5 separate regions of the Homo sapiens genome follow, and all the other regions are linked to region 4. Evidence: promoter capture Hi-C in 16 types of primary human blood cells and fetal thymus (Javierre and others, 2016). All regions are on one chromosome and are shown on one strand. Each heading gives the region's core, a stretch centred on a gene start or on the middle of the fragment in contact. The rest is flanking DNA. Distances are from core to core; before and after follow the strand shown. Region 1 has its middle 33 kb from the start of TPRG1. Region 2 overlaps TPRG1 (tumor protein p63 regulated 1). Region 3 has its middle 100 kb from the start of TPRG1-AS1. Region 4 holds the start of RTP4 (receptor transporter protein 4). Region 5 has its middle 7.6 kb from the start of TPRG1-AS1.

Region 1 (5,239 bases), core at 673-3,172, 1.8 Mb before region 4:
TTATTGCAATTTATCTCTCAGGTCTCCACTTAAATACCACTTGGAGGAGAAATCCTTCATATCCCATTGACTTCTCCAGTCAGGGCCCCATCTAATTTTCTACTAGAATCCTGTTCTCTTCCTTCATTACACTTGTCACAGCTTTTTAAAGTAATCAATCAATAAAAAATATAGTGTATGAACTTGATTTAAGACTACACACACAAATACTTGAGACTGTAACGTTGGTAAATTTCAAGGACTATGTTTTGCTCTTCATTGTAGATCCAGTAATACTGGGTGCTCAATAAAATATTTGATGAACAAATTCTCTTCTCAAAGTGCTCAGAGCAGTTTGTACAGTCTTTAAATATAACACTTATTCCATAGTAATGTAATTATTTTCCTTCATATCTATCCCCATCCCTGGATTTTGAGCTACTCAAGACTAGGTGAGATGGCCCCACAGCATCCTGCACTTGGCATATCTTAATTGGCTTTAACCTGTCTTCCGGCTTCTTGGTGGCAAGAGCAGCTTGTTAGAAACATGCCTGGTGCCTAACACAGTGTCTGGCACACAAATAGGTTTTAAACAAATGAATGAATGAATGAATGAATGAATGGCTAGAATGTCTTCCCCTCCATTTTCCCCTGACCTCCCAAAGTGCCCTTTAAATGTTGGAGGATATTGCATCCTATCTCTTCGGTGAGATACAGTGCACCGTCTGTGTGTGTTTCTTACTTAAAGCACATTCCATACAACTTACAGAACTTTAGATTTACAGAAGAGATGTATAAGGATGGAAATTACTTCCTTGAAAAAAGGATTTTTTCTGCAACATGATACAGAGACCTGTAGGCATGCAGCTCTTTTTCCTGCATTGAATTTAAAGTATGATTTGCTGAAAACTGCTATTTGTTAATTCTTCAAGGAGAGTCTATTTTATAAAGCTTGATGTACTTGTGTGCAAATAGGTCCACTTTTGAGCTGTGTTAAAGTAATCAGGCAAATCCTTACTCATCACCAGGTAGGACCTGGTTTGCAGGCTGGTGATACAGCAGCTGCAAACACGGCACTCAGCTTGGGCTGCAGAAATCAAGATTGGCGCGGACATACCCAGGCAAGTTCGAGAGGAGGTGTCTGCCTAGGAAGGGGATGCAAAACTGCATAATTCAAAGGAGAAATGAAAGGTACCAAATGAAACTGCAGAATACTTACAGAGTGCATGATTACCCTCTTGAAATACCTGAAGGACTGCCACCGAATTAGGCTTTTCTATATGACCCAAAGGAAAGGCTCAAGGTGCAGGTAAGATTTGTGTTTAATATAAGAAAAAACCATTTAACAGAATTGTACGGAAAAGAACGGGCTGCCTTAGAAGAGACTGGCCTTCTGGACACCAGCGGGGTGCAAGACAAGAGAAGGAGAATAATAGTGGTAACATTGTAGGAGGTATTTAAGCATCAGATTTGGGAATAGGGTTGGTGAGGAAGAGGTAATTAATACTAAGTAATAGCAATGATTTGTTGACATAAGTCCCGTGTGTAGGGATTTAATCCCCTATAATGCTGTAAGTTGTGAGGGTACACTTCGTCCACTCCATTTTACAGATGAAGTAACTGAGGCACACAAAGCTTCGGAATGTGCCCAAAGTCACCAAGCTAGGGAGGGCTGGGGTCAGGATTCAAGCTTAAGTCCATCCACTTCAGGAGCCTACGCTTTTAGCCACAAAGACTGCTTATGTCCTGTCCAACTCTAATTTTCTGGGCCTTAAATATTGAGATACCAAGAGAAAACCTATAAAGGAGTCTCAAGTGTATCTGGTGAAGCTGAGTCCTTCACCTTCTTTCCTTTGTCCTCCAGCATGATTCCTATGCTTACGACTACAGAGCATCAAGCCAGTTTTCAAGTTTATTGTGTGTCTCTGTGTGTGTGTGCATAGATCTGACAGGGCTAGTTCATTTCAAGTAACCAAGTATGTCTTTGGACAGCTCTTGTCAAGATCCAATAGAAGAGCCAATTCCAAAAATATGTTCCTTTAGTGGTTTTTTAGGGTTCTCTGCTCTGCACGGATTGACAATGTGGTAACAAGAGACATTCTGGAGACTGGATTTAATGCAACCATATGCTAGACAGAATGAGAACCCATATTGCAGCAGACCAGCCGGTACATTTCCATGTTAACAGAAGCTTGATTGCAAATTACATTTAGTCTCAACAGCTCAGTTCACTGCACACAGATGCCATGGGGGACTGTAAAGTTAGCGAGATGTGGGGGAGTACGACTAACATTTTTTTTTGAAAAAAAAAAAAAAATCCTTCAGCTGATAGAATGCCAAGGAGCATCAGCGCTGATGCTGAAAAGAAAACGCTGCTATATTTGTTTTGCCAGAAAAGGAAAAATAATCATTGTCGCGAGTTGTTAGTCAAATTATGAATACGAGCTCGGCTGGTAATTGTCTGATAATACAAACAGTGATATTAGGGTTGTCAGATGCGGCACGCACTGTTTGACAGCTAACATGTACGTGCTCTCTGGATGAGGAGCTGGTTCACTGATTCCAGAAGTCAGGCAAACAGAGGGCTGGGTGATGGAGGAGAGCTTCCCTAGGATCCTGGCCCCCAGTCCAGGGCTGGATCCGGGTCAGCTCCCCAAAGTGTGGTCAGTATCTCCGCTACACAGAGGAGGGTCTGTGAAACTGCAAAGAGCACAGTGTGGGTTTCAGTGGCAGATGCATCTCTTACTTACTGTGCAACCCTTGGCAACTTATTTAACATCTCTGAGCATACATTTTTCCACTTCTAAAACAGGGATAATTTTCAACCAGGTCCTCCTCCTTTGTGAGGATCAGCTGAGAACCTTGTGTGTGAGCATACAGTAAACCACATGGTGCTTTCTAAATGTTGGGGCTGTAAGTTGTCTACTTGGCTGGGTTTCTTTTGCTCCCATTTTAAGAGCTGAGCTACAGTGATTTTTTGTCCATTTTCTCATGGCTGGAGCAGATTTTTTTTCTGTCTGAGTACAAACACCTTTCAGATAGAATCATTCATCTTCTTTTCCCCAAGGAGTGTGGCCACAGGGCACCTTTCACCTAGAGCCCTCCCTGACCCCTTTATTACATGCTTGTCCCCTAGGGAAGCTAGAACACTTTCATCAAGTTCTATCTTATATGCATAAAGCCCTCATGCTCTCCATCCTCCTGTTCTCCAGACACAAAGCTGTGATAGACACCGATCTGCTTAACAATGTGTTCTCCCCTTAGCCTCTAATTCCCTGGACCCCTTGCAGTTGAGTGTGGCTGGGTGGCTAAGTTCTAGCCAAAGGCATACATATGGACAGGAGTGATGTACACAACTTCCAGACATCACCTTTAAACTTCCTATGCGTGCCTGATCCTCATTCTCTTTCTCCAACCTCCAGCTGAGTGGCAAAGACCTGAGGAACTAAGGGGAGGAGAAAACCAGAAGATGGAAGGAACCTGGGTCTCTGAATGACTGCCTGGAGCATAACTCCCTTGCCAACCTGTATTGTGCTGGGAAGTGGGTGAGAAATGAAAGTCTGCTCTCTTAATCCGCTGGTATTTGTTGGTTGGTTGTTAATGTAGCTAGCCCTGCCATAAAACCCAAGCAATCATTGACTTTATCTCATTACACAAAATGTGTTGTTACCAGAAAAACAACCAGTGTCTCCTCAAATACTCCCTGAAAACACCATGCTCTTTCACACCTCCAAGCCTTTGCTTACATGACATTTTTTCCCTTGTCTCTTCTCTCCTGAACTCCAATTACACTTTTGTATTGAGTAAACTCCTACTTGCAGGACCCAGCTCTAACACACCCACCCAGAAGTATTGTCACTTCCTCCCCTGGGCTTTCACAAAACTTGTACATGCCCATTATTATGTGATAATGGAACTATGGTTTACACATATGTGTCCCTCCTCTTGAGGCAGGCACTATGTCTTATTCAAGGCTTTAATGGACGTCTAAGGCAGCTCTCTTTTTTCCTTTCTATTTTTGTCTATTATCTATGGAATTAGGTACCCTAAGGCTACATCTTCCAGCTTAAAAATAGAGAGGCACAGAGACAAATGGAATTGTCCATTTGATTCACCTTTAGAAGATCTCATCATAGCGCAGGAAAAGGAAGATCACATTTTTCTTTCTACCCATCCACCAACCAAGGCCTATACTGGCTACATACAGAGACACGAGAAGGGGGAAGGATGCTCACGTGAGAGAAGCAGGCATAAAGTGTTGTAGACATGCGGAACTTCCCTATCAAAATAGGCCTCCTGCCTCTCTCTCCCGCTCACTGCATTCCCACTTGGCACCCTACTGGGACCCCCAAGAAAGATTATCCTTCTAATGGCCAGAGGCAAAGCTGTAGCCTGCTCACATTTGAGTCCAGCAAAGCCAGTCAATAAGGGCTGTGTGGAATGTAGAGCTCTGTTCACAGCAGGGCCTGGATGCTCACATCAAACACTGCTCTGTACAACTTAAGGACACCCTGCTGCATTCCAGATTTGAGGGAAAAATTCTTTTTTTGTTGTTTTTGTTTTTTTGTTTTGTTCTGTTTTCAAGTGGCTATTGCTGCTGTTACTTGTTTTGGTTTGAGAGCTCACTTCACCCAAACACACACACACACACACACACACACACACACACACACACACACACACACACATTTTGGGGTTTTCAGAAGCTGTTTATTTTGTTGCTTTCTTAATGTTGATACTTTGGGCTTCTTTATTTGCCACTTTGATGTTTTCATTGACATTATTTTCTTTCAGTTAACTCCTGGAAGATACACAGGGATTTCCCAATGATTGCAAAGCAGGCGTGGCAAAATCACAGTCTTGGATTCAGAATGGGAAGCCCAGGTTTGAGTCCTAGCTCTACCACCTTGCTGGGACAAATCATTCCACCTTAGTTTGTCTCTAAAATAAGAAAAATATGAACTCTGTCTTTCCAGACTTTCAAATTCCATAAGGACAGGGGTCATGTCCATTTTTTTAAAAATTGTCTCCATACACCTATCCTAGCACCTGGTATGTTGTAGCCCTCAGTAAAGATCATTGAGTGACTGAATGATGATTGTGGAGACCAAATAAGGTAATAGACATTAAAATGCTCTATAAATCCTGTAGTGGTCTACACAGGGAAGTATAATTATTGCCTAGACTGGGAATGTATGGATTGCCCCCAAACTGAAGAGTCATTTATCTATTTTAGGATACTGGAAGATACTTTGGCAAA
Region 2 (4,717 bases), core at 1,328-3,827, 1.8 Mb before region 4:
CATTTGGGCACTTCATGTTCTCCAGCCCACATTTCTCGTTTATAAAACAGGAATCATAAAACCAACAAAGTTGTGAAGCTAACGTAAGTTCACAGATGTGAAAATCATTTCACATGTGCTATACACAGTAAAAGGGCTTTTACTCTCATCATTCTGAAATGGGAATCCTTGTTCCAAAGCCAGGCATGCTAGACAGGCAGCCCTGTTGCTAGACAAGCAGCCAGGAGTGTCCCATCTCCATGGAATGAGCTAAAAGTTAATATGCATGAAGCTCAGTCATTTTTGTTATACATAAAAGAGAATCTCGGCCGGGCGCGATGGCTCACGCCTGTAATCCTAGCACTTTGGGAGGCCGAGGCAGGCGGATCACGAGGTCAGGAGATAGAGGCCACCCTGGCCAACAGGGTGAAATCCTATCTCTACTAAAAAAAAAACAAAAAATTAGCTGGGTGTGGTGGCGGGTGCCTGTAGTCCCAGCTACTCAGGAGGCTGAGGCAGGAGAATGGTGTGAACCCCGGGAGGCAGAGCTTGCAGTGAGCCGAGATTGCGCCACTGCACTCCAGCCTGGGTGACAGAGCGAGACTCCGTCTCAAAAAAAAAAGAGAGAATCTTGTGTGGTTGGTGAGGCTAGGGTAGTTGGTCCATATTACAGCTCCTATAATTCATAAGAACTAAATAAATGGGAAGCAAGAAGCCAGGAGTAATTGCAAGCTCTTACCTTTCTGGGCCTGCATGTTTGTTTATTTTCTTTAGTTTTTTTGTTTTGTGGTTGCTGTTGGGGGAGTTGGGATTTTTGTTTTTGTGTTCTCATTGTTGTTGTTTTTGCCTTTCCCTGCCTTGGTGTGCTAGAATTTTCAAACAAACAAACAAAAAGGCTTAAATATGAAAGGCCATTTAAATCCTCCATGAATGCTCCTCTTTTTGACAATTATTTTTTCTTATTTTTCTGCTTGAAAAGTAACAGTGGCTAGACTAGGAACCTCATTTATTTGGACCAGATGCCTGAACCATGGTCTTTACAACTAGCAGCGCTTTCCATTGCATAATGCATCTCGGAACCCACGATGAGGTTTTTAACAAGCAAAGAAAATAAACTGTCAAATTCTCACCATGGCAGAAATGACTGAAATCAGAACTTTTCCTGAAAGTAGGTTTTAATGGGGAAGAGGAGGTAAAGGCTTTTGGCAGAGAGAAGACCAAAAAGAACACCAAGGAACTACGATTTAAAGGGGATGGATGGGTTCCAAAGTGCAAAGGAAGAAAGTCTGCAAGCAAACAAGCAAATATGATAGTAAGAAATTATGTGTATGCAGGACTCATCCCTCATTGTTGTAGTTAATTTAAATAGGTACCACAAAACAAAAGAGAAATGTAAAATGAGTTTCTAGATAGGCTTTACCAACTTTTGAGCTTCCTATTTAGGTTCAAGCTGGGTTCAAAGTTTGGCTCTTTGGGGGACAGCTGTTCATACTTTTCTGAAAACTACTGGTGTTACCAATCATTGTAGTTGATGTTAAATCAAGCAGGCAGAATTGTAGTGCTAAGCTTCAATATAGTTCATGCAGTCTGACTTAGTTTTGGACAATTTATGTCTACACATCTTTATAATCACTGAATAAAAATAATCAAGCAAACAAAAAAAGCATATTTCTATATAAATAAAACCAATTAAAATGTGCAAGATTAAAGAAATTACCAGTTCTATTATCTGAGAACTCAACAACAGCCTTGACTAGATTTAGAAATACCGCATTTGTGTATTCTTTCTTGTAAGGGAGATGCAGTGTAGAAACAGATTAGTTAAGTGTTTGCTACTGATGGGATCTCCAAAATCTATGTTGACACCTATTCTAATCAAGGCAGAATATTCATTTGCAGAAGTCAAATATCACAATGGATGGGAAGTGGGGGTGGGAAATGAAATGCGTGTTGGTAAAAGTGAATTAGGAAAAAGCCTGAATTGCAGAGTTTTCTTTTCATTAGAGGTAACCCAGAAATGACAGAGATGGATAGTATAGAAATGAAGGAAGATGCTACAAAGAAAGAGCCTCTTACTAATAGTTATCACTTGTGAACGAAGAGGGGCACTAACAGCTATTGAAGGTCCATGTGCTAGGCATTTTGCTAATTTACCAACGTTATCTCATTTGGGCCTCAAGAATTCTTCAGATACATACTATTATCTCCATTTTATGCATGAAGAAACAAAAACCCAAAATTAACAGATAAGTTGGTGTCTAAGAGTTCATTTTTATTTATTTGAAACAATAGTATAAAATGGTGAGCAATCAGATGAACTCACAGGTGATAATGGCTCTACTTTCCATTGATTGAAAAATTTGTTCTGCTGGCCTGGATGGTAAAACATTCAAGTGTTGCCCTCCTGAAACTTAGTCTAACAAGACATCCTGCCCAGCAGTTAAAGATTAATGATTATTTACTCAAGGTATAGGAATCACAGAGCTTCTCTGCTGAACCCTTTTGTGATCAAGTTACCAGGCCAGAAAACAGAACTTACTGAATTAATCAAGTATCTGAACTGGGTAGTCTAATCAAATTATCTATTTAATATTAAGGCTTCCGTAGTAAAAAAAAATTGCCTTTTCTCTTATTATAGGGATATTTTACTTATTATAAAGACCATGGTATTACTAATATTTACTTGGCGGGTAAAGAGATGGTCACACAAACAACAGAATTTCTGAGAAGGCTAGAAAGGTAACCATCTTTGTGGTGGTATTTGCAAGCAAAGCTCTTATGGATAAGATAATCTTTGGGGGGAATGCAGGCAGTTATTGAAGCAATAAGGGCTTGAATGTTCGACTTGGTTTTTATCCTAACTCTGGAAATGTACCTGACTTAGCTATCTTCATGATTTCCCTGGTTTTTCTGTTCATGATTGTATATAAGATCAAATTCAAAGTATATATGTTGATTTTATCTATATTCTTTCCCAGACTTTCTTTCCATGACACCTAGAATGAGATGATTAGTAGTTCAATGTGTTTATAGGGGGAGTGCTTTTAAATAAGAGATTAGAATGAGAGAATTAGGAAGCCAATATAACAGTCTTTGAGAGTGGAGATACAGGCCTGACCTAAGGTAGACGTAGTGATGGTTGAGTGAGGGGACCAGCCCAGAAAACAGGTATAGGAGTCATATCTGGTCATATCATCAGCCACGGAATGCTGGAAAATGTGACTAACCTGGTAATTCAATCATTTATCTTATGTAGCAACCAGAGAAATTCTACCACAGGTCCATCTCCTATTCTGCTACAGTGATGTCAAGGAAAACGCTGTATTTCCACGGCCCTTCACTTAGCTGTGACTACTCACTTTGTCAAGAGCCAGAAGCCTTGAATGGTCTCTCCAGAAGTCTCAGCTACGTGACCTTTCAAGTCTTCCATGGCAGTCTCAATGGCCCCCGGCTGTGTGGAAAGGAGAAAATACCTAGTTTAGAGCAGACTTAGCCCACTTCGCGCTTATGATTAGTTAGTATATTCCAGCAGCTCCTCCGGAAAGCTGGTCACAAAGGATATAGTTTATGCAGTTGCCTGTATGCCTAACTGCCTTCCAGAAAACTTACTCTTGAACTCTGGTAAGCTTTTCTCCTTGGGTAGAGAAAAAGTGATCTAGGCCCCATCTTCTATAATCTTACTCAGATTTAATTATATAAATGAAGACAGCCACTTTCAGAGGAACAGTTTTCCCAAACAAGCATTATAAAGTTCAAAGCCTTTAGGAATCTGTACATTTTTAAATTAAACCTTTTTTCTCTTCCTAGAGCACATGTCAATAAAAAACAACATAGCCTTCTTCCAATGCTCTGACAATAAATTTTAGCTGACTCATGGAGATACACTCTTTCAGTCTCCTCACCTCATTTTCTGCTTCCTTCCCCAAACAGGTGTTACTACTTATAGGCCCAACCTTAGCTTAAAGATTGATTGTCATCTGTTCTAGTAAGTTCATAGACTCTTTAGCTCAATGACTCTCAAATTTCAATGCCCGTCAGAATCACCTAAAGTATGTGTTAAAACATAGATTTCTGGGACTCTACCCAGAGTTTTTTATTCAGCTGGACCAGGGTGGGACCTGAGAATTTGCATTTCTAACAAGTTCTTGGGTGCTGCTGGTGGTGTGGAGACTGTACTAAGAGAACCACTGCTCAAATGTACTTCGACAGAGAAGGTTGTGCCAACGTCAGTCACCTCCAGTGACCCCACTGGCAGGAATAGATGACTCTGGAGGGGAGTTGCCTAGGATTCTATGACAATTTTCCCTACACTCAACCTCCACTCTTTGTGATGCAGTCTGACTCTTCCAGTCCCACTTGTCCTCTCAAAAATAATACTTTCTTTAATGACACAACATGGGTATTTTTTTGGGTCTCTCTTCCTGTATTCACATAATTTTGGTCTCAACAAATATAACTGAGTAGTGAGACTAATATTTTTCAGAAGAAAAAATTGTTAAGTAAAGAGTCATGAAATAATCCTAAAATAAGCATTTTATTGAATGCTTTTATGCCAGGCACTTTGCCAAGGATATGTGAAGATGAGTATAATCATGTAGAATTTTTAAAACCTTATTTGCCTCGCTTATGGAAAATAATTGGCAAAGCCTATCAAAATGAAAAATGATCTATCCTTTGATCCATATTTTCACTTCTGTGAAATTATACTAAAGAAATTTTTGCATATATACAAAATGAC
Region 3 (4,641 bases), core at 2,090-4,589, 1.7 Mb before region 4:
TACAACATTCCCTTAAGCCGAAGCCTAATCCAGGGCGATGACCTAACTCTCCTTGTTACCAAAACACAAGGGTCCAGTCTAGGTCCTGTTGCTCTTTGTTACCAAAACACCAGGGTTCAGTCTAGGTCCTGTTGCTCACCACACAGAAAGCCAATCACTGAGACAATGAGTATTGGCTTTAACTGGGTACTGCAGCCAAGATGGGAGATCAGTCTCAAATCCGTCCTCCTGGCAGACTAAAATTAGGGGTTTATATAGCAGAGAAGAAATGTAACCACATATGGGAAAACAGAAATTAGGGAGGAGCAAGGAGCAGGAGTTGGTCAACAGGAAGTGGAAGGTCACTTAGGCAATCATGGTGGGTGCGGGGTCTGGCATCTTATTGTCCGTATGCAGTGATCTGGTAAGTTTCAATTCCTTGATACTATCCGGGAGCCCAAATGTTTGGTTTCCTGAGAAAGAAACTCGGATAAGACAAAAATAATTTCCTCAAGTTTCAAGACTGGGAGGGTCAATTTCTATGTTTCCTCAAAAGAAACCATAAACATCAGTTCTATGAGAAAATTGGGCTGCTTTTATCTTCAATTCTATGAAGGCTAAGACAGGTGAGGAAGCTGCAGAAGAAAAGTTGGAAGCTAGTATAAGTTGGTTCATGAGGTTTAAAGAAAAAAGCTGTCTTCCTAAAAGTGCAAGGTGAAGCAGCAAGTGCTGATATAGGAGCCACAAGTTATTCAGAAGATTTAGCTAAGATAATTGATGAAGCTGGCTACACTAAACATCTGATTTTCTTTTTTTTCTGTAAGTTATTGGGATACAGGTGGTATTTGGTTACATGAGTAAGTTCTTTAATGGTGATTTGTGAGATTCTGGTGCACCCATCACCCAAGCAGTATACACTGCACCATATTTGTAGTCTTTTATCACTCACCCCTCTTTCACTCTTCCCCCCAAGTCCCCAAAGTCCATTGTATCATTCTTATGGCTTTGCGTCCTCATAGCTTAGCTACCACATATCAGTGATAACATACAATGTTTGGTTTCCATTCCTGAGTTACTTCGCTTAGAATAATAGTCCCGAATCTCATCCAGGTCACTGCAAATGCTGTTAATTCATTCCTTTTTATGGCTGCATAGCATATATATATATATAATAGTTTCTTTATCCACTCATTGATTGATGGGCATTTGGGTTGGTTCCACAATTTTGCAATTGTGAATTGTGCTGCTACAAACATGCATGTGAAAGTATCTTTTTCGAATAATGACTTCTTTTCCTCTGGTAGATACCCAGTAGTGGGATTGCTGGATCAAATGGTAGTTCTACTTTCAGTTATTTAAGGAATCTCCACACTGTTTTCCATAGTGGCTGTGCTACTTTACATTCCCACCAGCAGTGTAGAAGTGTTCCCTGTTAACCACATCCATGCCAGTGTTTACTGTTTTTTGATTTCTTGATTATGGCCATTCTCGCAGGAGTAAGGTGGTATCTCATTGTAGTTTTGATTTGCATTTCCCTGATCATCAGTGATGTTGAGCATTTTTTCATATGTTTGTTGGCTATTTGTATATCTTCTTTTGAGAACTGTCTGTTCATGTCCTTAACCCACTTATTGATGGCATTGTTTGTTTTTATCTCACTGATTTGAGTTCATTGCAGTTCTGGATAGTAGTCCTTTGGCAGATGTATAGGTTGTAAAGATTTTCTCCCACTCTGTGGGTTGTCTGTTTACTCTGCTGACTGTTCCTTTTGCCGTGCAAAAGCTCTTTAGTTTAATTAGGTCCCAGCTATTTATTTTTGTTTTTATTGCATTTGCTTTTGGGTTCTTGGTCATGAAATCCTTGCCTAAAGCAATGTCTAGAAGAGTTTTTCCAATGTTATCTTCTAGAATTTTTATAGTTTCAGGTATTAGGTTTAAGTCCTTAATATATCTGGAGTTGATTTTTGTACAAGGTGAGAGATGAGGATCCAGTTTCATTCTCCTACATGTGGCTAGCCAATCACTCCAGCACCATTTGTTGAAAAGGGTGTCCTTTCCCCACTTTATGTTTTTGTTTGCTTTGTTGAAGATCAGTTGGCTGGAAGTAATTGGGTTTATTTCTGGGTTCTCTATTCTGTTCCATTGGTCTATGTGCCTATTTTTATACTAGTACCATGCTGTTTTGGTGACTATGGTCTTATAGTATAGTTTGAAATCAGGTAGTGTGGTGTCTCCAGATTTGCTCTTTTTGCTTAGTCTTGCTTTGGCTATGTGAGCTCTTTTTTGGTTCCATATAAATTTTAGAATTTTTTTTTCTAATTCTGTGAAGAAAGATCCTGGTATTCTGATGAGGATTGCTTGAATTTGTAGATTGCTTTTGGCAGTATGGTCATTTTCACAATATTGATTCTACCCATCCATGAGAATGGAATGTGTTTCCATTTGTTTGTGTCATCTATGATTTCTTTCAGCAGTGTTTCGTAGTTTTCCTTGCAGAAGTCTTTCAACTCCTTTGTTATGTATATTCCTAAGGTGGTTTTTTGTTTGTTTATTTGTTTTGCAGCTTGTAAAAGGGGCTGAGTTCTTGATTTGATTCTCTGCTTGGTCGCTGTTGGTGTATAGAAGAGCTACTGATTTGTGTACATTAATCTTGTATCTGGAAACTTTGCTGAATTATTTTATCAGTTCTGGGAGCTCTCTAGAGAAGTCCTTAGGGTTTTCAAGGTAAATGATAAATATCGTCAGCAAACAGTGACATTTTGACTTCCTCTTTACCGATTTGGATGCCCTTTATTTCTTTCTCTTGTCTGATTGCTCTGGCTAGGACTTCCAGTACTATGTTGAAAAGGAGTGGTGAGAGTGGGCATCCTTTTCTTGTTCCAGTTCTCAGAGGGAATGCTTTCAACTTTTCCCCATTCAATATTATGTTGGCTGTGGGTTTGTCATAGATGGCTTTTATTACATTAAGGTATGTCCCTTGCATGCCGATTTTGCTGAGAGTTTCAATCATAAAGGAATGCTGGATTTTGTTGAATGCTTTTTTCTGCATCTATTGAGAGGATCATGTGATTTTTGTTTTCAATTCTGCTTATGTGGTGTTTCACATTTATTGACTTGTGTACGTTAAACCATCCCTGCATCCCTGTTATGTAACCTACTTGATAATGGTGGATTACCTTTTTGATATGCTGTTGGATTCGGTTAGCTAGTATTTTGTTAAGGGTTTTAGCATCTATGTTCATTAAGGATATTGGTCTGTAGTTTTCTTTCTTGGTTATGTCCTTTCCTGGTTTTGGTATTAGGGTGAGGCTGGCTTCATAGAATGCATTAGGGAGGGTTCCTTCTTTCTCTATCTTGTGGAATAGTGTCAAAAGGATTGGTACCAATTCTGTGAATGTCTGATAGAATTCTGCTCTGAATCTGTCTGGTCCTGAATTTTTTTTGTTGGTAATTTTTAAATTACCATTTCAAACCTGCTGCTTGTTATCGGTCTGTTCAGGTTATCTAATTCTTCCTGATTTAAGCTAGGAAGGTTGTATTTTCCCAGAAATTTATCCATCTCTTCTAGGTTTTCTAGTTTATGTGCATAAAGTTGTTCATAGTAGCCTTGAATGATCTTTTGTATTTCAGTGGTGTCAGCTATAATATCTCCTGTTTTGTTTCTTAGTGAGGTTATTTGGATTTTCTCTCTTCTTTTCTCGGTTAATCTTGCCAATGGTCTATCAATTTTATTTCTCTTTTCAAAGAACCAGCTTTTTGTTTCATTTATCTTTTGTGTTTTTTGTTTGTTTGTTTCAGTTTCATTTAGTTCTTCTCTGACCTTGGTTATTTCCTTTCTTCTGCTGAGTTTGGGCTTAGTCAGTTCTTGTTGATCTAGTTCCTTGAGGCGTGACCTTAGATTGTCTGTTTGTGCTCTTTTAGGCTTTTTGATGTAGGTGTTTAGGGCTACGAACTTTCCTTTTAGCACCAAATTTGCTGTATCCCAGAGGTTTTGATAGGTTGTGTCATTATTGTCATTCAGTTCAAAGATTTTTTAAATTTCCATCCTGGCTGGTACTGGGGGTTGTCTGCACAGTGTCCTGTGATGTGAACCGTTTATGGGTCTCTCAGTCATGGATACCAGCACCTTTTCTGGTGGAGGTGGCAGAAGGTGCAGTGGACTCCCTAAAGGTCCTTAGCTTTGGTGGTTTAATGCTCTATTTTTGTGCTGGTTAGCCTTGGGCCAGGAGGTGGCGCTTTCCAGAAAGCATCAGCTGTAGTAGTGTGGAGAGGAACTGGTGGTGGGCAGGGCCCTAGAACTCCCAAGATTATATGCCCTTTGTCTTCAGCTACCTGTGTGGATAGGGAAGGACCGTCAGGTGGGGGCAGGGCTAGGTGTGTCTGAGGTCAGACTCTCCTCGGACCAGTCTTGCTGTGGCTGCTGTGGGGTATGGGGGTGAGATTCCCAGGTCACTGGAGTTGTGTACCTAGGAGGACTATGGCTGCCTCTGCTGAGTCATGAAGGTCGTCAGGAAAGTGGGGGAAAGCAAGCAGTCAGAGGCCTCACCCAGCTCCCATTGCAAACTGAAGAGCCAGTCTCACTCCCACTATGCCCCCACTACCCACAGCCCCAAGCCTGTTTCCAGGTGGAGGGCGAGAGGGGCTTGAAAACTTGCCTGAGGCT
Region 4 (5,279 bases), core at 2,432-4,931:
AAGACAAGTTTATGAGCAAGCAGTTCTGAAGGTCAGATGTCCAAAATCAGTGTCACTGGGCTAAAGCCATGTGCAGGCAGGGCTGGTTCCTTCTGCAGACTCCAGGGGAGAATCTGTTCCTTTGTCCTTTTGGGTTTCTAAAGGCTGCCTGTACTTTTTTGCCTGTGACCTCTTCCTCCAACTTCAAAGCACTTCAACCTCTTGTTCCATTGACAAATCTCTTTTTTCTGATTTTGAGCTTGTTGCCTCCCTGTTACAAAATCCTGGTTCTTATCCACCCGGACAATATGAAATAATCTAACCATTTCAAGGTCCTTAATTACATCCGCAAAGTCCATTCTACCATGTAAAGTAACATGTTTACAGGTTCTGGGGATTAAGTCATGCATATGTTGGGAGACACCATTATTCAGCCTCCCACACTTTCTGAGCTAAGTATATTGATATCACTGAGTGACTTAGTGAATGAATGATTGAAGACTTTTTAGCAATTCGACAATATTTATTACTAAATCCATTATGTACTTGGTCATGTTTCATACTGTTTTCAGAGGATGGCTAGGAAACCAGTGTTTATTCTACAAACTTGATCCTGCTTGGTCTCAAAATGAATTTTCAGTTATATTAAAGTGGCAGCCAGTTCATTGACTACCATGGAATTAAAATAAGAGAAAGTGGCAAGCCTATTTTCATCATTCTGATGTAAAGCATTTGACTACAATAAATACAAGCAGCAAAATAAAGACACAGATGTTCAGTGGATCTGGGTCTCGACTGGGCCCTAATTTCTCATACCCACTCCCCTTAGCCTCTTTTGCCTCAGCTGACTGGTTCTTGGCTTGGTTTGCGAGGTACACAGCACCAATTCCAGGTGAGGAATTCCCAGTCTTTAGGTGGGGGAGTAGGGATTTGGACGGCTTTGTCATGCAGCTTTTTAAGCCCTGTCCACAGATGCCCAAAGTGCATGCCTCACAATTGGCTGTGTCATGGGATCCTTCCAGGGACACTTCCAGGATTACTGGCATTTCTGGAGACTTCCTCGTGCCATTTCCATAGTATTTCTTCAGTATATGCTGCACCAGGTTGCTCAGAATCCTCATGGTGCTATCCGAGGAGAACTCAGGCATCTCATATTGGGACCAGGAGCACTTCTGGCACCTTTGGCCAAAGAGCCTCATACGCACCTGACCCTGGGATGTCCAGTGCTCCCAGTACGTGTGGCACAGAATCTGCACTTGGGCGGAAGCCCAACTTCGCTGGCAGGAGGAACACCGGAACCTGCAGTCAGAAGGAAGACACCCATTATGCCTTCATCTGGTTGTTAACCTGAGGGAAAATGGTCTTGGCCCCTGTCACTAACATCCTTTTCCATTTGAAAAAATGCATGTGATTTAGATTGTCCCAGTCATTGATAAACAGGAACAAGAAGGACTATGTTTCAGATAAGGCTTTTTCCTGTGACCTACTGAGTATCCACCCATATGTTACACCCAAGTCTACCTCTTTGCTAGTAAAACATCTCCAGATGCCTCTGAGGGAAAATCATGTCTGCCATCTTCCAGAGAAACTTATTCCTAATTTTGGTCATAGAAAGCTTTGGTAAAGTATCTATTTTGATGCATACAATATAATTGGTCTTTATAATTTTATCCCATTTCATCTGTGAAGTAAGCACTATTAAACCCAATATCCAGATAAGGAAACTGAATCATGAAAAGGATACGCAACCTGCTTAAGGACACACAGGGTAAATGTTAGAGGCATGCTGCTAATCTCAGGCCATCTGAAATTCAACTCATTTACCTGCTGTAACACGTTGCCTCTGGTGAGTAGTGTAGCTAATCTCTCACACCTGGAGAAACAGACTGCATCCCTCATACCTGGGTTGAAGATCCAGTTTACATCAGGAAGACCTTGGGCAAAGCCCTTCCCTTCTATAACCCTCATTGTTTGAATCCATAAAAAAAAAATTCAAGGGTTATATTGGCAGCATCAAAAGAGACGATGTATGTGAAAACACTTTGTAAACTACAAAATGCTTTTCAAAAGCTGATTGATATTTTCCAAAAGTACACTGGTAGGTTGCTTTTCCGATCTCGAAATGACAATCAAATCAAATCATCCCAACAGGAGAAACACCTTCTTTCTGTTTGGAGGAGTGCCAAAACGTTGTAAGACATCATGAGTCCCTCAAAAAGCTCTGGCTGGTGTGGACAGAAATATTTACACATTTCCCTGGATTAGAAAGCAGAGCAACATGACTGCTATACGGGCTCTGACAAGTGACTTGAGAACTGTTCTGGAGACGTTTAGGAGGCTTTATTTAAACAACAGATTCTGCAGCTAAAAATAAGCATATACTGTATTTGATACAATATATAATAATACATATATTATTTATAAATTTATTATTCTGAAATACATAGTACATATGTATATATAATTATATATCATTTATGTATACATATACATATATATTTTATCTTATCCCATTATCTTATGGGAATGTATACGAAGGAATACTTACTCTGCCTAGGAGAACCAGAGAATGCTTTTAGGAGGAGGAGGCACTAGAGTGGGCCTTGAAGGATGAGCAGGGAGGGGTGAGGGGAGGGTCTGCTGAACAAGCAGAACTCCATGAACAAGAGTGTGGAAGTCTGAAGATGCATGGCATAGCTAATAGTCCATAAGGAATGGAGTAGGCCATACCTGAGGCAGGATGGGGCAGGCAGGCAAGCTGAGTAATAGGTCAGATGAAAACTATACCGAAGGTCCTGTGTGTCATTTAAAAATAAATTTGATTATCCAGGTCAGCAATTCTCACCCTCCTAACATGGTCAAGGAAACTGGTTCCTGCAACCTGGAGGCTTGCTGGGGGTTAAAGAGGGAAGTGGTGAGTAAGGGAGGAGTATTACTTGGTGACTCCATGAACTGGGTTTTAGATTTAGTTTTTGCAACATCATTCTATACTATTATCCCCAGGCCTTCAGTAAAGCAATGTTCAGAGTAACTGCTTGATCTTAGCCAATTCTTAAGATATTTAAAAAAAAAAAAAAGGCTCCGTCCCAGGCTTGTACTGAACAGTGCCAAGGCTTGGAGAGCTGGTGCAGCTGGGGGAAGCTGGTCAGGACTGCTGGGGAGACTGCAAAAGACTCTAGAGGTAGTCTGGAACAAATGACGTGGTGAGAAACTAGAAGGGAAAATTTATGGAATAGGGAGCCTTCTCCAGGGTTTTCCAGAAATATTTACGGAGGGAAACCTAGTAAAAGAAGAAACTTCCAGCAGTTAAACAAAATGGAGGTTTGGAGTCGTCTTATCATGTCGACCCTAAAGAGTACTATGACCACAATAGGATGGAGGCCCTGGTGACATTTACTCCTTCAACAAGCTCTCAGAGGAATAAATCATGCTAAGCTGAGCCTGAGCCTCTCTTCTCAGAAGAGCTATTGCCTGGGAAACCCACACTCACCAGCCAAATGCTCTCTGTTGGTATTGCTTCCACCCTTGAGCCAGGCAGTCTAGCTGAAGGTTGCCATCCAACTTCAGCGTCCATGTGGCCCGGGGTTTTGCCTCTTGGATTAGTTCTTGAAATGTCTGCTCCCAAGTCCAGAAATCTACAACCATTTTTTCCCTCTGAAGCTGAGAGAGTAGCTTTCAGGTTTGCTCGTTTCTCAGGAAGAGACAAACAGTTTCAGTTTCGGTGTTCGGTTCAGTTTCTGTTTCTGTGTATGGACATGAGCTGTTTTTTTCAACCTTCATTTTAGACTGTCTGAGTACACAGAACAAGTCTTTGTTCTGAAAACAGACAGCAGCAAAACTGTGTTAGTTAATAGGCCTTGCTGAGAGAGAGATAAAGAGCTCTGTTCTAGATTCTGGGGTCACATATAAATTCGCTTTTATTTTCTCTCTCTCATTTTTTATAATAGGCAAAGTGAGAGGTGACAGCATGCTGGTAGCCCTCGCAGCCCTCGCTCGCTCTCGGAGCCTCCTCGGCCTCGGTGCCCACTCTGGCCGCGCTGGAGGAGCCCTTCAGCCAGCCACTGCACTGTGGGAGCCCCTTCCTGGGTAGGCCAAAGCCAGAACCGGCTCCCTCAGCCTGCTGGGAGATGTGGAGGGAGAGGCACGGGCAGGAACCGGGGCTGCATGCAGGGCTTGCAGGCCAGCTAGAGTTCTGGGTGGGCGTGGGCTTGGCGGGCCCTGCACTCGGAGCGGCCGGCAGGCCCCCAGCCCTGGGCAGTGAAGTGCTTAGCACCTGGGCCAGCAGCTGCGGAGGGTGCGCCAGGTCCCCCAGCAGTGCCGGCCCACCGGCACTGAGCTCGATTTCTCGCTGGGCCTTAGCTGCCTCTCTGTGGGGCAGGGCTCGGGACCTGCAGCCCGCCATGCCTGAGTCTCCCCACCCTGGGCTCCTGCATGGCCCAAGCCTCCCCGACGAGTGCCACCCCCTGCTCCATGGTGCCTGGTCCCATCGACCGCCCAAGGGCAGAGAAGTGCGGGCACACACGCAGGACTGGCAGGCAGCTCCACCTGCTGCCCCCGGGGCGGGATCCACTGGGTGAAGCCAGCTGGGCTCCTGAGTCTAGTGGGGACTTGGAGAACCTTTATGTCTAGCTAAGGGATTGTGAATACACCAATGGGCACTCTGTATCTAGCTCAAGGTTTGTAAATGCACCAATCAGCACCCTGTGTCTAGCTCAGGGTTTGTGGATGCACCAATCAGCACCCTGTCAAAACGGACCAATCAGCTCTCTGTAAAACAGACCAATTGGCTCTCTGTAAAATGGACCAATCTGCAGGATGTGGGTGGGGCCAGATAAGAGAATAAAAGCAGGCTGCCCCAGCCAGCACTGACAACCGGCTCGGGTCCCCTTCCACGTGGTGGAAGATTTGTTCTTTTGGTTTTTGCAATGAATCTTGCTGCTGCGCAGTGTTTGGGTCTGCTCTGCCTTTATCAGCTGTTAACACTCACCCGGAAGGTCTGCAGCTTCACTCTTGAGCCAGCAAGACAATAAACCCACCAGAAGGAAGAAACTCAGAACACATCCGAACATCAGAAGGAACAAACTCTGGGCACTGTGCCTTTATGAGCTGTAACACTCACCATGAGGGTCGGTGGCTTCATTTTTGAAGTCAGTGAGACCAAGAACCCACCAATTCCGGACACAAAAGCACTGTTTTTGGCACTGGGAAAAGAGTATCCTGTAGCTAAGAAACAATTCCTGCCCCCACAGATGCTCACACCCAGGTGGAGACAGGGAGGTTAGGAGCAGCGTAGGGGAGCA
Region 5 (5,112 bases), core at 944-3,443, 1.6 Mb before region 4:
GATCATTTTTTCAGCAATTCTTCCCTCTTGAGCCTTTCCAAAGCAATCAATTTAATTTTTATGGACACAGTCTCTTTATTTTTATACTTATATTTCATCTATTTGCATAATATTTAAATTATATAATTGCATTTACTAATAAAAGTAGCATAAACGGGTTTGAGGAAAAAATCAGCTGGTTCTTTGTATGCATCAGATTTGATTAATGGGAGAAGACAGACATCAGGAAACTAGAAAGCAGCCTACCACCCATGAGCACTTAGCATGCTATGAGCATCTGTCAGAATGTACAAAGGGAATGGAGAACTTAGGTTGGTTACCTGAGAGAGAGTTACATCTACTGAACAATTAAGTGCTCCTCATCACGAAAGAAAAGGAAAGAATGCGGACTGAATCCTGTGCCCTGAAAGTCGAATCAGCATATACCTGCTGTTTCTATGTCACCAAGAGGCTGATTCCAGGTGGGAGACTCTGGAAGATGAAGCGATTGGATCTTGAACCCAGAGCACCAGCAAAAGGTCCTGAGTTCCATAACAAGCTTTACTCCAGAGTCGCTGGTGTTGGGGAAATATTTGTAGTCATTTGGTCTAAGTTCCCTTGTTTTAGAATTAGACAATTTGACTCTCACATTTCTAAGGTTCGTTTTTAATTCCAAAACAAAGTCTGGTTGTTATCATTCTTTTTGGCCTTTTTCCCTTAGGTCCAATGCAGAGACGATGACCACTAGGGGTCAGACTTTTTACATTACTCCTCTTGAAAGAAGGAACCCAAGTCTTGGATTTTTTAACTGGGGAAAAACTAGAGAGGTCGTCTATCCTGGTAAGTAATGCTTCATTTAAACTCATTCAACATGTGTGACTATTATATTCTTAAAGATTTCTAAGAAATAGAGGTTTCATGATGCTCCCTTCCAAGGAAGTTTTTGATATCTAACCTAGATCCTTCAAATGTAATTTCAATCTATTTCTTATTTGTGATGTCTCAGTGGAAACTATTAATCATTGACTATTATCCTCTGAGTAAGAAATGTATTTATCTGAGCATGTATCAGTTCATGTCTCATTTCTCTAGCTGTCAAATAGGGGTCTAGGACTAGAATCACTTTTTCAATTAATAGTTCAATAAATAAGCAAGAAAAATAAGGTTCCAACTTAAATAACTCAAAATCAAACTGCCAGTCAATGGCTGGGCCAGGATTAAAATTGGGTTTTACATAACTCCAAAGTCCACATTGTTCTCACTAAGAACACTTCTTGCTGTCTCTTACTTAGTGCTCCTGCTGGCCTCTGGCTACTTGGGAGAACCATCGGCCTTTTCATTTAAAAAAAAAAAAAAAGTGAAAGTGGGGGATGAAGAAAGAGGGTCCCCTCAAGCTGTAATGAAGCAGTCACTTCCTTGGTCATCTAGACCACTGCGGTGATGGGCTGAAGTTAGCTCAAGAAGCCATCGGCATCTCTCAGTGCAGGTTTTGACATGAAATGGCAACATTCAGGCTTTGTAGAAGAAGCTGAAGGCAGTAAACTCCAAGCCAGAGTAAAAATCAAGTGTGTTCTGATGTGTTGGATCAAAACTTGGGAACCTCATGTGCTCTATCCTACCCCTGATAACAGCTGCAAATGTTTGTTTTTTTTTCTCTAGCATCTGGCCGGCCCATGTGTAAACAGAATGAAGAGTCAGCATGGGGAAAGAATCTGAATGCCCCGTTTCTCAGCCTCTTAAGGATACAGTGAAATGGGACAGGGTCTGAGTTAGGAAACTCTTTGAAATTACACGGAGATTCAGGCAGCAGCTCCCAATGGCACTATAGAATCTCTCACCTATAAGTCCCTTTTTATGCAAGAAAGACAGTTAAACAAAGGTAGTGTTGGGTAGTGGTAAGAACAGTGGATTGAGAATTGGATGACTCAAATTCCAAATGAGGCTCCTATAATAACTGACCGTGAGCCTTTGGGAAGACTATTCTTTCTGGGTCTCATTTCACCATCTGAGTTATAAGATGGCGGAGTCTTCTCTAAGGTTTCATCCAGCTTTACTTTTCAACTTTTTGGCATAATTCTAGCTGTAAAACAGGGGTCTAGGACTAGAATCTACCATATTGCTATGTTTATTCAATAGGTATATTCCTAGCTACTGTTTCTTCCTTTGACTAAATGACACTTTAAAGGTTATATCAACTCCCCCAAATCTTTTATGTCGCTTTACCTTGTCTCAATCCTAAACAACAAGTTAGGACTAACATCAGTGCTAAAGATAGAATTCAACCTATCAATTATTGTTTCTGTTCAAAAGCTAATTATTTAATCAGGGTCTTCCACTTGTTCAAAATTATAAGCAGATTAAGTGCTGAGCATGATTTTTAATGTGAAACATATGACTTTGGTATTCAAATGTACTTTTAAAGTTTTCAATATCTTTTCAATTTCTAAAAAGTAGATCAGAGTAAAATTTTTTTAAAGTAAAGATACTATTAGCTTTGATAAATGAAGTACAAACTAAATAACATATTATGAATTTGTAAATTCATATACAAATATACCTTGAAAGCTAAGTAAAGAATGTTGACTTAATTTAGCAGGCAATGAATGGAAGAAGGTTTCTAACTGAAGGAGTAATTACAATCTGAGACTAGAAACTGAGTTATTCCAAGAAATTACTCTTTGTAACCCAGCAATTAAACCTCTCAAAGAAGGCAGAATTCTTAGTTTTATGCCCATTTCACTGGATTACATTTCCCCTCTTTAAATTCTATTTTTTCACCACATCGTGATCCTCTTAAGAAAAGTTGTCAAAGAAATGGAAATAGAAGGAATGAGAAATAAAAGTCAAGAAGACATTGTAGACTTGATCTGTCTTATTTGGAGCTTGTATTTAAACAGAGGTACTTTTCATCCTTTCAGAGTTCCAGTTGGCCCCACTTCCAAGATGGCTGAGGATGTTGGCTCCTGCTCCATTCCAGCAGAGGGCGCTCTTGGAGCAGGATTGGGGATGGCAGTGGGAAACTGGGAGGACAATCTGAGCCTCATTCACCAGCCACTTAAGTTTGGTGTGAATCTGAGTCCTTCTGGACTGACCTAAAAGACAGCTCATTGGTCCGTGCCTTACAGAATTCTATTCATAGTCTAGTTAAACTCTGATGAAGACCCCATTTTCCAGCTCTACCTTCTCTGCTTACTGTAGAGAAAAAAGTGACTAAATTATCCTCAAGAAATAGAAAATAAGTTAAGAAATGTGACATCTGGGCACGTGCACAGAGGAGCTACTGAGGACTGAGAAATCAGGAAAAGGTTAGCCAAAATAGGTGTGTGTGAGAGATGTCAAAACTGCTTAGCAAAATCGCCTGTCTACTTTCTACCTCGTCTTCCAGAAGGGAATTCATAAATTTTTTTAAAAAGTAGTAGCAATATCATGGGCAGAGCCCAAATAATGACACAAAATGAATCTTGTACAATTGGCCCTTTGTATCCATAGGTTCCACATCCATGAATTCAACCAAGTGTCGATGAAAAATATTTGGAAAAATAAATGGAAGGTTGCATTTGTACTGAACATGTAGAGATTTTCTTGTCATTCTTCCCTAAATAGTACAGTATAACAACGATTGACATAGCATTTACACTGTATTATTATGAGTAATCTAGCAATGATTTAAAGCATATAGGAGGATGTGCGTAGGTTATATGCAAATACTACACCATTTTATATGAGATACTTGAGCATCCCTGGATTTTGGTATCCTCAGAAGATTCTGGAACCAATCCCTCAAGGATACCAAAGGATGACTATACTAGGAATGAATAGCTGAAATCCATAAAGGTTTTTGAGCTCAAGAATGATGTGAGCAAAGCTTAGCAACTGGGTTGCCTAGCAAAAGATTTATCCATTGCAACCCAGGGACTGAGCTCCAACTTGTAGCAAAAAAAAAAAAAAAAAAAACAAAGAGCACCAAGGAGCAGTGGAGATCTGGGCTGTAGCCCTAGCTCCAAGACTTCTTGTCTCTGTGTCTTTGGCCAGGTTCCTTGGGTGCGTCTCTTCAAGCCTCAGTTTCTCTGTCCATCAAGTGTGGGAGCTAAACCACATAACCTGTCAGATTCATTTCATATTTTACATTTTGAGTCTGTGCGTTTGTAGCATATTAGAACAGTAATTTAATTTTTCCTCAGGGAATCCATGGAAGGCAGGTTAAAGGTAGCTGACCATTTATTATGTCATTCTTCAGTGAATAGACATGTCCCTGAGGGAAGAGAAGAGCTCTTCTCAGAGACTTCCAGTCGCATCCTTCCCTCCAATCGACATATGCCCTCCAGTCATGAGCAGTGGGGGTGTGGTGTGGGGCTAAGGGTGAGGAAGAGAGTATCTATTTCTTAGCTGGTTTATGGAATCCAAGGTGGAAGTGGAGTTTGATCAGTCACTCAGTGTAGACTGACTTTGGGGCAAATAGAAAGCGAGCACTAGAAGAAGCTTAAGAGCTCAACTGCTCTTCCCTATCATTTAGTAAATGCTAAAATGTAGATCTCAAGGCCACACAGTAATTGGTAGAATAAACCTGGATTATGGTGTTTTTATAGGCTAAATGTAACCTCCAGCATATAACCTCCTCACTTACTAATCCCTATATCTCTACCAGAACTATTTAGATTTTCTCCTCCTGCTCATCACTAGATTTTTGCACTGCTTAGAGATGATCACAATCTCTTTGATCCTTCTCACACAAAACTTCACCTCATATATAGGAGCAGTAAGGTAATAGTTTCAGTGGAATCTGCTGTCTCTTGTGATGCTCTGAAATTTGGATCTTTTGCCTGAACTAACATCTTAGGAGGGCTTCAGTCAGTTCACCATTCGTAAGTGGATTTATTTCTTCATTTCGTGCACTAACTTGGGTCCAAGTGAACCTTTATTTATTTATTTACTTACTTACTTATTTACATAAACCTACTTGAAAAGATATATGAGGAAGCTTATAATAAAAATCACAAGTATTTTTAAACCCAACTATAAAACAGGAGCACAAATGCAGTTATACTTAAACCTAAGTAGATCCACCCAAATTTTTAATGATTTTTTTTTTACTATATAAGTTCACTGATGAATTTTCCATCTGAAACTTTATAT

The links. The method cuts DNA at HindIII sites, captures the fragments that hold promoters and counts their contacts. A CHiCAGO score of 5 or more calls a contact.
Region 1: a fragment that was not itself captured here is called in contact with the fragment with the promoter of RTP4 in region 4 in 1 of 17 cell types (activated CD4 T cells); the score reaches 5.6 in activated CD4 T cells.
Region 2: a fragment that was not itself captured here is called in contact with the fragment with the promoter of RTP4 in region 4 in 1 of 17 cell types (neutrophils); the score reaches 5.2 in neutrophils.
Region 3: a fragment that was not itself captured here is called in contact with the fragment with the promoter of RTP4 in region 4 in 1 of 17 cell types (neutrophils); the score reaches 7.8 in neutrophils.
Region 5: a contact is called between a fragment that was not itself captured here and the fragment with the promoter of RTP4 in region 4, in 5 of 17 cell types (activated CD4 T cells, total CD4 T cells, naive CD4 T cells and 2 more). The highest score is 8.9, in activated CD4 T cells.

The regions. Positions count from the first base shown.
Region 1 is chr3:189,136,725-189,141,963 of GRCh38, reverse strand. It overlaps a transcript of TPRG1 not described here. Among named protein-coding and RNA genes, the nearest start is that of TPRG1, 33 kb to the left of the region's middle. RefSeq lists an enhancer at 4,155-4,656. The HindIII fragment of the contact is 501 bases long and covers 1,672-2,172 here.
Region 2 is chr3:189,214,005-189,218,721 of GRCh38, reverse strand. TPRG1 (tumor protein p63 regulated 1) reads right to left here. Exons shown (of 6, transcript NM_198485.4): 3 at 3,339-3,430. Among named protein-coding and RNA genes, the nearest start is that of TPRG1-AS2, 24 kb to the left of the region's middle. The HindIII fragment of the contact is 2,060 bases long and covers 1,548-3,607 here.
Region 3 is chr3:189,049,237-189,053,877 of GRCh38, reverse strand. It overlaps a transcript of TPRG1 not described here. Among named protein-coding and RNA genes, the nearest start is that of TPRG1-AS1, 100 kb to the right of the region's middle. The HindIII fragment of the contact is 7,093 bases long and covers 1-4,641 here.
Region 4 is chr3:187,366,787-187,372,065 of GRCh38, reverse strand. It overlaps RTP4 (receptor transporter protein 4), which reads right to left and starts at 3,681. Exons shown (of 2, transcript NM_022147.3): 1 at 3,470-3,681; 2 at 1-1,278. The coding sequence starts at 3,624. The coding sequence ends at 693. RefSeq lists an enhancer at 3,471-3,820. The HindIII fragment of the contact is 4,178 bases long and covers 1,597-5,279 here.
Region 5 is chr3:188,952,647-188,957,758 of GRCh38, reverse strand. No RefSeq gene overlaps it. Among named protein-coding and RNA genes, the nearest start is that of TPRG1-AS1, 7.6 kb to the right of the region's middle. RefSeq lists silencers at 265-559, 2,925-3,219 and an enhancer at 75-609. The HindIII fragment of the contact is 3,306 bases long and covers 541-3,846 here.